Regions from separate parts of the Homo sapiens genome. Here all the other regions are linked to region 3. The links are contacts of gene promoters, found by promoter capture Hi-C in blood cells and fetal thymus (Javierre and others, 2016). All regions are on one chromosome and are shown on one strand. The core of a region is centred on a gene start or on the middle of the fragment in contact, and the rest is flanking DNA. Distances in the headings are between cores, read along the strand shown. Region 1 overlaps DNAH11 (dynein axonemal heavy chain 11). Region 2 has its middle 21 kb from the start of DNAH11. Region 3 holds the start of SP8 (Sp8 transcription factor).

Region 1 (3,434 bases), core at 891-3,390, 760 kb before region 3:
AGAGGTTGCAGTGAGCTGAGATTGCGCCATTGCACTCCAGCCTGGGCAATAAGAGCAAAACTCCGTCTCAAAAAAAAAAAAAAGTCTGTCATTGCTCTTTCCCACATTGCGGAGGTCAGATCCCAGAGCAATTCCCTCATTCTCCATAGGGAATATGAACTACTCCTCTTGCCTCTCTAGGCAGGGGGCAGAGTTCAATAAGCCCATAGGAGAACTCTCAACTTGTATCCACTTCCTAAACATCACGAGTGAGTCAGGCAATGGCAATTACCCAGCTTTCCATGTGCCCCAGGCTAATGTCTGGTGGTATTGTGGGAAAAGGAACCTCTGTAACCTGTTACCTTCCAGTTGGATCAGGACTTGTGCTTTAGTCCAATTGCCTTCACTCTGGCATTTCCTAAGACACCCGAAAATACATATGGCCACCAAAATTGGAGATATTTGACAAATTCTTTTAATCCCAATATATATGTTAACTCCGTAGGTGTCCCTAGGGGGATGCCTAATAAATTTAAGGCCCAAAACCAAAGAGCTCTGGGTTTAAGTTAGCACTCTTTTGGTGGTCAACTATTAATACAAACATGGATTAAATTAACTATATCTATTATATTCAACAAAAATTCATCAGTTATACTAAGAACGCCCTCAAAGGGGTGGCTAGCCAGTTAAATGCCACCAGCCAAATAGCCTGAGAAAACAGGCTTGCACTAGACATGACACTAGCAGAAAAAGGGGGTGTATGTGTTATGCTGGGTGGGAAGTGTTGTCATTCCCAAGAATACCGCCCCAGATGGCACCATCACAAAAGCTTTACAAGAACAACCCTAGCCAACAAACTAGCAAAAAATGCTGAAATTAATAACCCATTAATGGGTTGGGTAGAAGGTTGCTTTAAAAAATGAAAAGGTATGATAGGTTCAATCCTTACATCTCTCATAATTGTGGCAGGAGTCTTAACAGCAATGGGATGTCGTATTCCTCCTGTGTAAGGGGACTAGCACAAAAATAGCTATTAATAAACAAATGTGCATAACTTACTAGCAAAATAATCTGCTACTATTAGAGACCAAATTAAAGTTGCTCTCCTATAAGGAAAAAAGTAAACAACTTTTAGAGTGATTCAAGAACCAAAAGGGTTTAGATAAAAATAAAACCAAAGAAAGTAAATAGAAAAGAGGAGGGAACTTGTGAGAAAACATTTTATACGGTCAATTTTCAAGGCATGATAAATCTAAGTACTGGCAGCCAGCCTGAGGATATGACAAACCTCATGGCTCATGCATGTAGAAAGTCATGATAAAGGAACAGAATGTAGACGAGGAGTCAGCCCATAAAAGGGAAGAAAGTTTCGTTATTGGGAAATCAAAAATTAAGTGAGGAAGGGGGCCAGGGTATAACATTATAAGGGGCATATGTCCAGGCAAACTTAGGCAATGTCCAGGAATATTGTAACCCCATAGTACTCAACCACTGAGGAACTGGGAGAGGGGCTTACATGCTAGGAAGTAAATTACCTGCTGTAACTGCCCCGGGTGTGCCTGCCTACTAAACACCCGATCTTGCAAGACTGCCATTAAAAGTCTTGCTTCTGCTGTACTGCGTGTCTCCGAGTCCATCCTTTGGGTTTGGAAGGATAAATGTGTTTCTCACATTATTCCATGACAAAGCCAACTTCTTTTAAAACTTAATGTCTGTGTCATGAGCTGTGGATAAAACACTACGAAATTCTGAGCCACATGCTCTGGAAAGCAATTCGTAACTCAAACAGCTAAAGCATCTCTAGAAATATCGTTTAAAACAAATAGACCTGGGATGTACTTATTAATTACAATAAATTTTATTAAATATATACAAAGTAAGTCAATTAATTTGAGGTTTTGTCTTATTTTAGTTGTCAGTTTGTGTAGTTTTTGCATTTGTAAGAAAAATAAACTTTCTCTATGAACCAAAGTAAGGTTCACCAAGGACATATACACCTATAGATAAAAGAGCAAGTGTGCCTTTGCTGTGGATCTCTTTACTTACCTTCTGTTTCTCTTTTCAAACTGTGGGGTTTCTCTTTATGACAGTTCTTAAACCATTCAATACAATTACTGAGGAAACACTTTTAAAATACAGAAGCCCAGGCCCCTCTAGATTTTTTAAATTGGAATTTCCAAGGATGGGGCCCAGATATTGACTGAGAAGAACCAAATGACATTTTCTTTATGTCTTGGTAAGCATTCACAATTATTGTTTCTTTTGAAATGTGGGCCAACGTGATACATAAAGAAATAACCATATGACATTTTATATACTTTGGCTAAGTATAAATATATAATACACTCTGGTATGGAAACACATCATAATGTTGAGGAGCAGGCATACCTTTTTCAGAATATTAAGCAGATCCTGGTACTGAGAGAAAGAGTAGAGAAATTTGAAAAAGGCTTGTATCTTCTGTTGCCAGACACAGATAGTAGAGCAAGAATTTCACAGTGTAGCCCTGCCCCTCCAAGTTCCAGTTGATAGTGGTCTAGATTCTCATATTGAACCAAAGTCATCAGATTCAGTTCAATTAAAATCTGAGCACCTGCTGCATACCAAAAATTGTTCCTGGTACTGAAGTTAAAAGATTGTCTTCCTAGCACCTCCCTGAAATCAGCTAAAGCCAATTAAATTCAACAGGAGCGAAGGGAAACCCAGGCAGGGTACAGGAGTTAGGGGTGAGAGACTTTGGTTAGTCCAGCAGGAAAATACCTCCCTTCAAAAAGACAGAAGAAGAGACTCAAAAAGTAGAAGAGGTGTGATCATGAGAGACTGGTAAATAACTAGCAATAAATATGTCAGCATTTTTCCTACCTTAAATATCGGCCTTGGCAGGACTACACTGATTACAGAGGTCTGATTTAGAAATTGGCCTTGTAGACAGATATCTAACCCAGTGGCTCCCAAAGCTCACTGTACATTAGAATCACCTGGGAATCTTGAACAACTGCTGCTACTTGGCTCCCATTCAGGACGTTCTAAATTAACTGGTATGGGTGTGACCTGGGGCATTGTGTTACAAGTTCCCCCAGGTGATCCTAATGTTCAGCGAAGTTTGAGAGCCAGGTTCTAGTTCCATGGAACCTGGTTATTTGGCAGTTGTTCTTCAAAGCTAGTCCACAAACAAAGAGCATCAGCAACAGGTTAGAAATGCAGAACCTCGGGCTCCACTCTAGACTGAATGAACCAACCTCTTTCACAAAATCCCCAGGCAGTTCTTATGCACATTAAAGTGTCAGTAACATTGGTTGAAGACTATTTCTCTATTTTAAGAGGAGAAAAAGAAAGTTTAAGAACCATTTCTAACACTTTCATCACCTTTTCCCATTATCTGCCATGAGTGAATCTTAGTCTTTAACTGTTAGTTTCTAACAAGTATAAAAAGGAACTGATAATACTCATTTTCA
Region 2 (3,334 bases), core at 19-2,518, 740 kb before region 3:
TCCCCTTTGTGACACTCATAGCAAAGGTTTCTTGGGCTGAGAAATGTTTGAGTTAACAAAGCATTCTTTCAGTTCACACCAACGGCTTTTCCCCCCATAACCATACAAGCCCTGTGCGGTGCATGTAAAGTGGAGGATGTAAATACACTAACCCTCTACGAACCTCAGGTTTGTCCTGAAATGGACAAGATCAAGTTCTTAGAGAGAGAAAGGGGTTGATGGAGGCGGAAGGCAGATAATAAACATGACCTAAAACGTCTTTCACTGATTCTATGAAGCACATTTTCCCCCGTATTTTAACATCTTTGAAAGAGAGATGTGTCATTTGTGGTCTGCCAACAGGCAGGTATGTTGTAGGTATTATTGCCCATATATCTCCAGCAAAACTTGTAGAATGTATACCATTAGTGTAGAGAAAATTCCCAAAGATAATAATGGAGGCTCCTTTTAAGAAATGCTGCATCGTTTATGCTTTTAAGGGCACAGAAGGTATTGGTCGAAAATTGTTGACTTACGGTATATTAGTTATCTATTATTGCATAACAAATTACCCCAAAATGTAGCAGTTTAAAACAACAAACATTTATTAGTTTCTGTTGGTCAAGAATCTAGGACCAGCTTAGTTGGGTTTGCCAGTTCAGGGTCTCTCATGAGATGTAGTCCAAATGTTGGCTGGGACTGCAGTCATCTGAATACTTGACTGGGCTGGAGGACCACTTCCAAGCTCACTTAGGTGGTTATTGCCCAGATATCTGAGCAATATTGGGCCTCTTGATAGGATTATGTATGACATAGTGTGTGGCCTCCCTGAAGCAAACAATCTAAGAGAACTAAGAGGGAAGCCACAGTGACTTTTTATGACCTAGTGCCTGAAATCACAGCTGTTACATCCACTTTATGCTATTCATTAGAAGCAAGTCATTAAGTCCATGCCACACCCAAGTGGAGGGGACTTAGGCTCCATCTATTGAAGAGAGGAATATCAAAAAATTTGTGAACATAGTTTTAAAACTACCACTCGTGGGCAAAAACATGATAAGGTTATCACTGGCCAGGCATGGTGGCTCACATCTGTAACCCCAACACTTTGAGAGGCTGAGGCAGGAGGATCACTTGAACCCAGGAGTTTGAGACCAGCCTGGAAAACATGGTGAGACCCTGTCTTTACAAAAAAATTAAAAATTAGCTAGGCATGGTGGTGTGCACCTATAGTCCCAGATACTCAGGAGGCTAGGGTGGGAAGATCGCTTGAGCCCAGGGGGTCAAGGCTGCAGTGAGCCGAGATCATTCCACTGCATTCCACCCTGGGCAACAGAGTGAAACTCTGTCTCAAAAACAAACAAACAAACAAACAAACAAACAAAGTCACTGATGTGAAGAAACTATTTCATTTATATATGTATGTATTTCAAATTGGCACATAATTGTATGTATTGTGTAATGATCAAATCAGGGTAATTGACACATCCATCACCTCAGACATTTACCATTTATTTGTGTAGAGAACATTCAAAATCCTCTCTTCTAGGTATTTTAAAATACACTATAATTTATTGTTAATTATAGCCACGCTGCTGTGCTATAGAATTTATTACTCTTATCTAACTTTAATTTTGTATCAATTAACCAACCTCTCTATCCCTCTGCCAACTCCCTACCCCTCCCCAGCCTCTGGTAACCTCTATTCTATGAGACCAACTTTTTTAGCTTCCACATATGAGTGAGAATGTGCAGTGTTTTTCTGTGCTTAGCTTATTTCACTTACCATAATATCCTCCAGGATCATCCATGTTGCCAAAAATTACAAATCATTTTATTACAGCTAAATAATATTCCATTGTGTATATACACCACATTTTCTTTACCCATTTGTCCATTGATGGGTGCTTTGGTTGATTCCATATCTTAGCTATTGTAAACAGTGCTGCAATAAACATGGGAGTGCAAATATCTCTTCAACATTCTGATTTCCTTTCCTTCGAATATATACTCAGTAGTAGAATTGCTGAATTAAATGCTATTTCTATTTTTAGTTTTCTGAGGAACTTACATACTGTTTTTTATAATGACTGTACTAATTTGCATTCCTACCAACAGTATATAAGAGGCCTTCTTTTTCTGCATCCTTGTCAGCATTTGCTATTTTTTGTTTATTTGATAATAGCCATTTTAACTGGGATGAGATGATATCTCATTGTCATTTTGACTTGCATTTCCCTGATGATTAGTGATGTTGAGTATTTTTTTCATGTATCTGTTGGCCATTTGTATGTCTTCTCTTGAGAAATGTCAATTCAGATTATTTTGCCCATTTTTTAATCAAGTTATTTGCTTTTTTGCTCTTGGTTGAGTTCCTTATACATTTTGGATATGAATCTCTTGCCAGATGGATAGCTTGCAAATATTTTCTCCCATTTTTTAGGTTGTCTCTTCACTCTGTTGTTTTCCTTTGCTGTGCAGAAGCATTTTAATTTAATATAACCCCATTTATTTTTGCTTTTGTTAACTGTGTTTTTGAGGTCTTATCCAAAAAAATCTTTGCCTAGACCAATGGCTTGATGTGTTTCCCCATGTTTTCTTCCAGTGATTTCAGTTTTGGGTCTTACCTTTAATTCTTTAATCCATTTTGAGTTGATTTTTGTATATGGTAAGAGATAGGGGTCTAGTTTTATTCTTCTTCATATGGATAGTTTTCCCAGTACCATTTGTTGAAGAGACTATCCTTTCCCCATTGTATGTTCTTGAACTCCTGGCCTCAAGTGATCTTCCCACCATAGCCTCTCAAAGTGCTGGGATTAGAGGCATGAGCCACCACACCCAGCCTCCGGTTATATGTTCTTGGAGACTTTGTTGAAAATCAGCTGGCTGTGAATACGTGGATTTATTTCTGAGTTCTCTATTCTGTTCCATTGGTCTACCTAGACTGTTTTTAGGCCAGTATAATTCTGTTTTGGGTACTATAGCTTTGTAATATATTTCAAAGTCTGGTAGTGTGATGCCTCCCAGCTTTGTTCTTTTTGTTCAGATTGCTTTGGCTATTCAGGGTCTTTTGTGGTTCCATACAAATCTTAGCATTTTTTTCTATTTCTGTGAAGAATGTTGTTAGTGTTTTGATAGAGGTTACATTGAATCCATAGATTACTTTGGGTAATACATTTCACTTGCATTTCTAACGTAGAAAGAAGAATGATATATGATAAAATATATCAACAAGTCTAACAGCTCTTTTATAAGTTTAAAAAAGCTTTTAAATGATATTAAAGTAATGGATTATAGTGTAATTGGCAGGGTTTTTTTTAGTGGTATATGAAATAATCAATTGTGTCTTATATTC
Region 3 (3,084 bases), core at 225-2,724:
TAAGTTCCCTTGTGGTGGCAGTGAAATTGTAATGGCATTTCTGAAGGCAACTAATAACACAAATGGCAAGCAAATGACTAAACCCCACCGAATTTGAACTAAGTGTATCTATTAACATGCACACACACTCATAGACAGATCTCTGGCCCAATCGCCATTAGACACTGACGCCTGGATAAATGTCCAAGATTTGTCAAAAGCTCCTCTCTATTCTTAGATAAATAGAACCCATATATTTCGATCAAAGTCCTGATTCTTTTCTCAGAAAGAGGCAGTGAGGTTTTCTGTGAAAATTTCTAAATTCCGTAAAACGCTCTTCAATTTCTTACCCAAAGAAAAAACGACCCTCGCTTACTCTCTTCTCTATCTAATCCTTTTGTATTGAAATTTACTCAACACCACGGGACACACACACCTCCTCCCCTAGAGTGAGACGTGCACTTCTAAAGCAGAATTCCACCTCAGGGAAAAAAAAAAAAAAAAAAAAAAAAAAAGCCACGGCATCAAAGAAACAACTCATGGGCGCGCAGGCGCGCATCCACGTCCCAACGCATCCCTAAAAATAACCCTTAGCCTCTCAACCTTTCTACTATTTCGTTGGAGAGCCGGGAAAGAAAAGGTGGGTTTAAAGATCTTCTTCAAAAATGTAGTGACGCTGTTTACCAAGTTAAGAAAAAAAAATCACTCAAGATTTTAGGTACAAGGAGCCAAAGGAAGTTGGCGACAGGGGCAGCGTTTGTGAATATTTATTCACTCAGCCTCCATCAACTTAGTCGGTTTCTCTCTTCAGCTCGACAGTCTCTCTCTTACAAACACACACTTTATTGCATTGTTCCCATTCCCCACTACCAGCTTTGGTGCGCGCACACAACACAAGCGCCCACACACACCCTTCCCTCTTCTCTGTCGCACAAATACACATGTTCACAGCCCTCCTTCTCCCCCAACACCAAACACACTCACCCCCCACCCAGTTGAGTCCCTCTTCCCTCCCTAGGTTTGTCAGTTACACTACCGTACACTCACACCCTTCCCAACACTTAACTGCTCTGTCCCTCTACCCCGCTTTGTCGCACACGCAGTTATCTTATCACACAACCCTCCCTTTTCTGCACTCTCTCCACTCCCCGCCTTTACCACACTGTCACTGTTACGGTGTCACACCCCCATCCCCCCTCCCTCCAGTCTCCGCACTGTCCTCTCCTACGCCTGGTCACACTCGCACACAGTTACATTGTTACACACACACTCATACACGCGAGCGCGCGCTTTGCGCTTTGTAACACACGCAGCCGCCCCCGCCCCCTCCGCTCCCACTCCCCCTTCCACCACGGCGGCAGGCGGCGGCGCCGATGACCTCACGGCGCGCGCGCCGCGCGGCCCGGCGAGGCCGCAGATTGGCTGGCCGCGCCTCCGCGGCACTTCAAAGCCGGAGAGGGAGCTACAATTGTGGTGGAATGGGCGGAACTGATCATTGTATTGCACACCTCTAAAAAAAACACTGCCTCTGATTTATCAATATAAAAAAGATCCTCTGAGAGGAGGAGGGCACTTTTGTGTGATGGCAACTTCACTTCTAGGGGTGAGTCTCAGGATTTTCTCTTGCTGGTTTAATTAGTTTCCTTTTATTGCCGATTGGAGGGGGTTAAAGTCGCCCCGGCCAGGCCACGGGCTATCAGTCTCTCTATTGAGAGCTTTTTTTTTTTTTCTTTAAATACAAGTGAGTTTGGAGAAAAGAAAAAGGGGGAGAAGGGGGCAGAGTCACTTTTTTTCAGCGCAGGAAAAGGTTCGAAGGGCATTTAGACAAGCCACCGCGCAGCGCCTCGCTGCTCCCTGCCCGGGAGACCTGCGTCCAGCCCATTTTACAGGCACCGATTTCGGGGGTAAAGAGAGCAAGTTTTTCCTTCTGGGCAAAGTGCAGATTCTTCCCCTAACCCTTAAAAAAAAATTCTGCAGCCCGCCTTGTCTCGCAGGTACGTTGAACTCGTCTCGTTTTTACTACTGTAGATATGCTTTTAAAAAAAGAAAGAAAGAAAAGCAGGAAGAAAGAGTGAGCCCTACAGTTTGATTTCTTTTGGCCTGGGAGAAACAACCCAGGATGGGTTTCTGGGGACCCGAACAGGTTTTTCAAAGCTCTCCGGATTACAGGGAAGCGCTCTTAAAAGCAATCCAATGGTTTTCCCCCAGGCTTCTCGGCAAAGAAAACTTCCTTCCTCTCCAATCTGGACTTTTTGCTTGTTTGTTACGAAGTGTCTGGGGCTTTGTGTGCAAGAGAGTGTTGTTTTAGGTGAGAATACTTGTCAAACTCTTCTTTAGCGTGGTGCTTGCTCCCGAATCAGACGCCGGCAGCCAAACTTGTCCCCTCCTGTAGAGTAGGAAGCGGCCGGGCGCCGGGGCTGTTGGGGGTGCCAGGTGAGTTGGTGGCGGCGCGCCGCAGCGAGAGATGGGGTGCAGTGGGGCGCTTTGGAGGCTACCGAAGGACTGATGCACATTTCTTCCTTTCCTCCCCCACCGGCCCTTTGCCCACCTCCCCTCCCCCACTCCTTCTCCTCTCCTCCTCGCAGGAAGAACCGAGGTTGGGATCGACTCCTCTGGCCATGCTTGCCGCTACCTGTAATAAGATAGGCAGCCCCAGCCCGTCTCCCTCCTCCCTCTCGGACAGCTCTTCTTCCTTCGGCAAAGGCTTCCACCCCTGGAAACGCTCCTCGTCCTCTTCTTCCGCCAGCTGCAACGTAGTGGGTTCCAGTCTCTCAAGCTTCGGCGTGTCCGGGGCCTCCAGGAACGGCGGCTCGTCCTCGGCGGCTGCGGCGGCCGCGGCAGCAGCCGCGGCTGCCGCGGCCCTGGTGTCCGACTCGTTCAGCTGCGGCGGCTCGCCTGGCTCCAGCGCCTTCTCCCTCACCTCCAGCAGCGCCGCAGCCGCCGCCGCCGCCGCCGCAGCCGCCGCCTCCAGCTCGCCCTTCGCCAACGACTACTCTGTTTTCCAGGCCCCCGGAGTTTCCGGGGGCAGCGGCGGCGGCGGCGGGGGCGGCGGCGGCGGCTCCTCCGCGCACTCGCAGGACGGCTCCCACCAGCCGGTGTTCATCT

The links. Contacts are between HindIII fragments. The CHiCAGO score rates a contact against its expected background, and 5 or more counts as called.
Region 1: a contact is called between a fragment that was not itself captured here and the fragment with the promoter of SP8 in region 3, in 1 of 17 cell types (M2 macrophages). The highest score is 5.4, in M2 macrophages.
Region 2: a contact is called between a fragment that was not itself captured here and the fragment with the promoter of SP8 in region 3, in 2 of 17 cell types (M2 macrophages and M0 macrophages). The highest score is 7.3, in M2 macrophages.

What each region holds. Positions count from the first base shown.
Region 1 is chr7:21,545,534-21,548,967 of GRCh38, reverse strand. The region is part of intron 2 of DNAH11 (dynein axonemal heavy chain 11); the gene reads right to left. Among named protein-coding and RNA genes, the nearest start is that of DNAH11, 4.2 kb to the right of the region's middle. RefSeq lists an enhancer at 2,807-3,434. The HindIII fragment of the contact is 2,659 bases long and covers 811-3,434 here.
Region 2 is chr7:21,520,392-21,523,725 of GRCh38, reverse strand. No RefSeq gene overlaps it. Among named protein-coding and RNA genes, the nearest start is that of DNAH11, 21 kb to the left of the region's middle. The HindIII fragment of the contact is 3,957 bases long and covers 1-3,246 here.
Region 3 is chr7:20,785,276-20,788,359 of GRCh38, reverse strand. SP8 (Sp8 transcription factor) reads left to right here and starts at 1,474. Exons shown (of 2, transcript NM_182700.6): 1 at 1,474-1,582; 2 at 2,565-3,084. The coding sequence starts at 1,562. The HindIII fragment of the contact is 6,810 bases long and covers 1-2,757 here.